Linked DNA regions of Homo sapiens: region 1 is linked to region 2. The links are contacts of gene promoters, found by promoter capture Hi-C in blood cells and fetal thymus (Javierre and others, 2016). All regions are on one chromosome and are shown on one strand. Each heading gives the region's core, a stretch centred on a gene start or on the middle of the fragment in contact. The rest is flanking DNA. Distances are from core to core; before and after follow the strand shown. Region 1 overlaps UTY (ubiquitously transcribed tetratricopeptide repeat containing, Y-linked). Region 2 holds the start of UTY (ubiquitously transcribed tetratricopeptide repeat containing, Y-linked).

Evidence for each region. Contacts are between HindIII fragments. The CHiCAGO score rates a contact against its expected background, and 5 or more counts as called.
Region 1: a fragment that was not itself captured here is called in contact with the fragment with the promoter of UTY in region 2 in 2 of 17 cell types (monocytes and activated CD4 T cells); the score reaches 5.9 in monocytes.

The regions. Positions count from the first base shown.
Region 1 is chrY:13,400,351-13,403,162 of GRCh38, forward strand. All of the region lies in intron 6 of UTY (ubiquitously transcribed tetratricopeptide repeat containing, Y-linked), which reads right to left. Among named protein-coding and RNA genes, the nearest start is that of MIR12120, 77 kb to the right of the region's middle. The HindIII fragment of the contact is 1,430 bases long and covers 569-1,998 here.
Region 2 is chrY:13,478,639-13,481,427 of GRCh38, forward strand. It overlaps UTY (ubiquitously transcribed tetratricopeptide repeat containing, Y-linked), which reads right to left and starts at 1,395. Exons shown (of 30, transcript NM_001258249.2): 1 at 876-1,395; 2 at 616-679. The coding sequence starts at 1,027. It overlaps MIR12120 (microRNA 12120), which reads left to right and starts at 539; the gene lies at 539-628. The HindIII fragment of the contact is 7,265 bases long and covers 1-2,789 here.

The DNA of each region.
Region 1 (2,812 bases), core at 34-2,533, 78 kb before region 2:
CCTTTCCTGAAACAAAAAGACTACCTCAACAAATCAGATTTTTGTTAACTCTGCAATAAGCCTTATATAGAAAGCTTTGTCTGTATAAGTGACTCCAAACTTCTACACTTTGGAAAACTAACTTCCTTTCTATGGAATCTGTGTTTGCAGGGACCTTAGCTTTGCAGTTGAATAAACTCTTCTTAAACATTATACTGACCTTTTTGAATACTTAGGTTGACATTCATCGCAAAGTTCTCCAGTGTATAATGTGTAATGCACACATTAATAAATTTGTTTATTTTTCTCTTGTTAGTTTTTCTGTCAGTCTAATATGCGGGGACCCAACTAACGAACCTAAAAATAAATGAAGGCTAAAGTTTTTCTTTTCATATAAGATCAAAACAATTGCAGACACTGGAAATAAAAAGCTAAAAAAAAAAAAACTGGACTGTATCAATGTCAATTTCCTAGATGTTAACCTTTGAGAAAAACTGATGGGTATAGGATCTTTGTTTGTATTACCTTTTATAATGATACATACATACTTTTGAAATAAAAAATAATAAAAGAAAACTGGGAAATAAAAAGCTTATTTCCTGAGGAAAAACCCAACATTTGAACACTGTGAACATTGCTTTTATTTTCCCTTAGTGCTATAGTTTGAATATTCCATTCAAAATTCATGTTGAAATTTAATTGGCACTGTGACATTAAGAGTAGAGATCTTTAAGAGGTGATTAGATCATAAGGGCTCTCTCTCATGAACAGATTAATGCTGTCATCAGAAGAGTGGGTTCCTTAGAAAAAGGGTGAGTTTCACCTGGTATCTTTCTATCTTGCTTGTAATGTGACGCCTTCCACCATGTTCTGACACAGCAAGAAGGCTCTCTTCAGACATGGTCCCAAGATCTAGGACTTCCTGGCCTCTAGAACTTCATGTCAAATAAATCTCTTTATAAATTACCCAGTCTCTAGTACTCTATTGCAGGGGCAGAAATGAACTAAGATATTTGGTTTGCAAACCGGAGTATGCTAACAGAGCAAGACAATACAGACTATTTTTTAAGTATATGAAGTATTGGAAGTACAGCATACTTACTCTCCTCAACACAAAAAGGGAAGCATAATAGCCACACTTCAGACTATACTATATTTTTAAGTAAAATCTGTCTTGAAACCATATTATTAAATATATGAGAACACAGGCCTTTCCTAAACAAGTCACTACAGGATAGAAACTGGCCTGAAAAGAAAATAACTTGACCAGGTGCAGTGGCTCACTCCTGTAATCCCAGCACTTTGGGAGGCCAAGGTGGGTGGATCACCTGAGGTCAGGAGTTCAGGACCAGCCTGACCAATATGGTGAAGCCCCGTCTCTACTAAAAATACAAAAATTAGCTGGGCATAGTGGCAGGCGCCTGTAGTCCCAGCTACTCGGGAGGCTGAGACAAGAGAATTGTTTGAACCCAGGAGGCAAGGGTTGCAGTGAGCTAACGCCACTGCACTCCAGCCAGGGTGACAAAACCAAGACTCCGTCTCAAAAAAAAAGGAAAAATAAAATAACTTGCAAGATTACAGCACTTCAGTACTATTTTAGTAAAACCTAAAGAAAAAAGAGAGGTATATAATTCAAATTACTCAGCCTACATTTAATTTGTCAGCATTCAAGATCTGCCAGGAGCAGTAAAAAACTTGGATGCTACGGTAAAATTACTGCTTTACTATTCCACACCCCCAAACAGCATAAAATGCCAAACATTTTTAAACAGCAAACATTTTGAAAATACATATTTCAAAACATGCATGAGAAAAGACTTTTAAAACTGATTACATATTTATAAAAAATAAAAGTTATGCACAACACCTCACATTACAGAAAGCTAAATTAAATACCACGAACCAAAAAAGTAAACATTAAGACAGTAAAGGAAATGAGACAAAATGATATAACCTCTCGTCTTCATTTTCAGTATCCAATCCTCAAACTAGAGTCACCCAATCCTCAAATTATGACTAAGCTTAAAAATGATCTTTCCAGAAACAAATTATCAATTAAACCATGTTTGTGAAGACATGAATACTCTATTGCTGCAAAATATAGTTCTGTATCTCTAGCTGTAGCAATTATCCCAAAAGAAATTCTGTATCTCTACCAAGATGCTCACAGTTAAGTCTCATCCAAATTTTGCTCTCATGAAGCCAAACTCCAGTCAAATTAAGATATTTCCCATTTCTTACAAGTGGAAGGGTCCCATACCCTGTCAGCCAAGGTAATCTAAACCACCTGTAATACTTCCTCTACTCCCTCATTGGTTTGTTGTCTGCCTCAGCAAACATCACCTCATCCTCTAAAAAGAATCTCAGGCTAGGATTCAAACCTGCATTACGAAGCCTTTTCTGGATTTCCCCAGGCAATAATTTCTGTTGCCTCGATAGCAGTTTGATCAAAATGTTTTTGTACTGGATATAAAGAAATATTAGAAATAACTCAATAAAATATGATACTAATTTTAAAATCAATTTTAATATAACCATTCTCTATTAAAACCAAATAAAAATATGTGTACTATTACAGCATTTTTTCCTTCACATTCTAGGAAAGCAATGTATCATATATGCATCTGCTGAATGTAACCTATGCTAATTAAAGAAGCATTTCTCAAGCCCAGCTACAATGCATCTAAATACAAAACATGGGCACTAAAAATGAAGTTATCAAGTAGTTATTTCAGACAATTCAGAATACAGTAGCCCATGTCCTCAAACTTGAGGAATACATTCCAAGACCTCTAATGGATGCCAGTAATCTTGGATAGTACTGAACCCTACA
Region 2 (2,789 bases), core at 145-2,644:
TGTGAGCATGACACCTAAGAAACAAGGTTCCTGAATGGAAAAAGCACACACATTCATGAAATCACATTTGCAGCACTGTGCATCCTAAAAAAGTCAACAAATCACTAAACTTCAGGCTAAACATACACGCATCAGTTTATAGGTCAAATATCTACTGCAAACTCTTCACCGCTGTAACTTACTTGCTACTTACACTTAGGACACCAGGGATATTTTTTTTAAAAAGGCAAAAAAATGTTTAAAATTAGACACCAAGAGCCAAATACCAAAAGGCGAGGGGAAGAAGCAGGAAGTTATGAATTTTGAAAACTGTACACATTCACTATTTGTGACGCTAAAATTCAGGAACAAAAGGCCCTAAAGTAACAGGCATGTGGTGTAGACCCGGTTTAGCCCGGTCCCAAAGCGTCCGATTTTTTTTTTCCTCAGAGTAGAAGGGAGTCTGGAGCAAGGGGCGAAGTATTCCAGAGTACGGGGACAGCAAAGGCAAGAAACACTTTTCCGACCCCTTGGCCATGGAGCAGAGCCAAAATAAATACTGGCTGGGCGGTAAGGAACGCGGGGCCTTGGTAGAGCAAAGTGCGGACCAAAGACTTTGCGTCTGGTTGCTTTTACCTTGCCTAGTAGGGTCTTCGTTCTGGCGCCATCTTCATGAAGCCTCACGAACCCGAAGAGACGGCTGTAGAGAGAGAGACACAGAGCTTGTTAATGGTCTGAGAAAGCCAGTGACTTGCTCCTTCCCGAGTCCAAGAGCGACAGCGACAGATTGGTGAGTGCCAAGCTGAGGATGACCCCGTCATCAACGTGGGCAAGCTGCGTCCAGGCCTTCCCGGAGAGTATCGCCAGCCAACCAGGCGGGTGATGGAGGTGCGTACCTGTCCATGCCACCAAGCGCCTCCCTTTCCTCGACTGTCAGGCTAACAGACTCCTCTTCACTCTCGCGGCTCGCTTTTCCTTCCGCCATTTTCTTTGCCTCATCACCGAAGGCAACAGCGGCGGTAGTGAGCGACACTGCGCAGGATTTCATGGAAACAACAAATTTCCAAGTCCCACGACGATACCCAACCTTAATCGAGTAGTTGAAAAGACGCCTTCAATCGCTGCTTGAGACTGTGACGCCAATTTTATCGCCTCCTCAGCGGCTGCAAGGAAAAAAGCTGAGGCAAAGACTTAAGCTACCGAAGCACGGGCAGCGGAACTCGGCTACCTGGATCACATCTGGGAAACTACAGGGAAGGCAGAAGCTCGCAGTGCTGGAGAGCACAGCAGAATTTCTTAAAATCACAAACTTTGCCAGCACCAGCACAAAGTTGTAATTGTGTCACGGGCGAACCCCACGCAGCCGCCGCGACCTCCCCGCTCCCAACCACTTAGTTGTAGCCAATCTAGGCGACTGATTCGTCTCACGTGATCTTTGTTGACTTACGTCAGGCATTGCTCCACTGTACTCCTAGGCTGCTGGGACCCCGCCCAGCCAGTTCGCCAAGGACCTAGGAACATGACAGAGGCTGACTGATTCTGACCGCTGGTTGGTTGATGGTCACGTCTATGGAGAAAAGGGTAGTCTCTGGGATGGAACAACCTGTAGGTTGTGCTAGTTAAATGCATTAAGATAGAAAATGGAGTGTCTGTGCTGGGTGTTTTTGCAGTTGCGATACGCTTGAAGGGGAAGAGAGCGATGGGAAGGGCGGCATCGGGCATCACCCACGGGGCGCAAATGCGAAAAGAGGACACCATGGACTTTAGGAGAGTCCGTAATGAGGCTCCCACTGTCACAAGCCTTGCGAATGCGAGACCTTGCGGGGCATGGCAGGGAAGCTGCGCAGGCCCTAAACCTTCACCCTCAAGACTTTTGGCCCTAAGGCCTTGTCACCTCCATAGGCTGGTTCTTTGCCCATTTCCTCTCCACTGACCAAGTCTAAAGAGAAGGCATAATATCTTATGACCTCAGTCGGTAAGCCAGGCCCTAGGGAATCAACGTGGCAACTGCATTTATCAGTTCATGATATTATCTAAACAACAAACGATGAGCAAAAAAAAAAAAAAAAAAAAAAGTTACTCCACAAACCCAAAATGTTTATTTCTATTGTGATAATGATAATTCCGTGAGGTCTCAGTAAGAGTAGGAGCTTCTGTGGACAGGAATTATAAGAACAATAATTAAGACCTTCATCACACTTTCAAGATGCAGTAACCCTTAGAAAAGAAAAAAACACCACTTTTTTCTTACTTTCTCAATTGTAACCAAAATTATAAATAATAGGTAAAAGAATTTATTTCTGAACCCCAAATATCTGAGAGAGGTCTTAGTCAATTTAAAAAGTTTATTTTGCAAGACTTACCCATGATACATTTGCCCAAGGTGGTCAGGGCACAGCTTGCTTTTGTACGTTTTAGGGAAACATGATTGGTTCGGTCAGGTAAGAGGGACAGCTCGAAGCGGGGGCTTCCATGTTAGAAATAGATAAGAGACAGGTCGGGCGCTGTGGTTTACGCCAGTAATCCCAGCACTTTGGGAGGCCGAGGCGGGCAGATGACCTAACGTTGGGAGTTTCAGACCAGCGTCACCAACATGGAAAAACCCCGTCTCTACTAAAAATACAAAATTAACAGAGCATGGTGGCGCATGCCTGTAATCTCAGCTACTCTGAAGACTGAGGCAGGCGAATCGCTTGAACCCAAGAGGCGGAGGTTGCGGTGAGCCGAGATGGCACCATTGCATTCCAGCCTGGGCAACAAGAGCAAAACTCCGTCTCAAAAAAAAAAAAAAAAAAAAAAATGTAGATAAG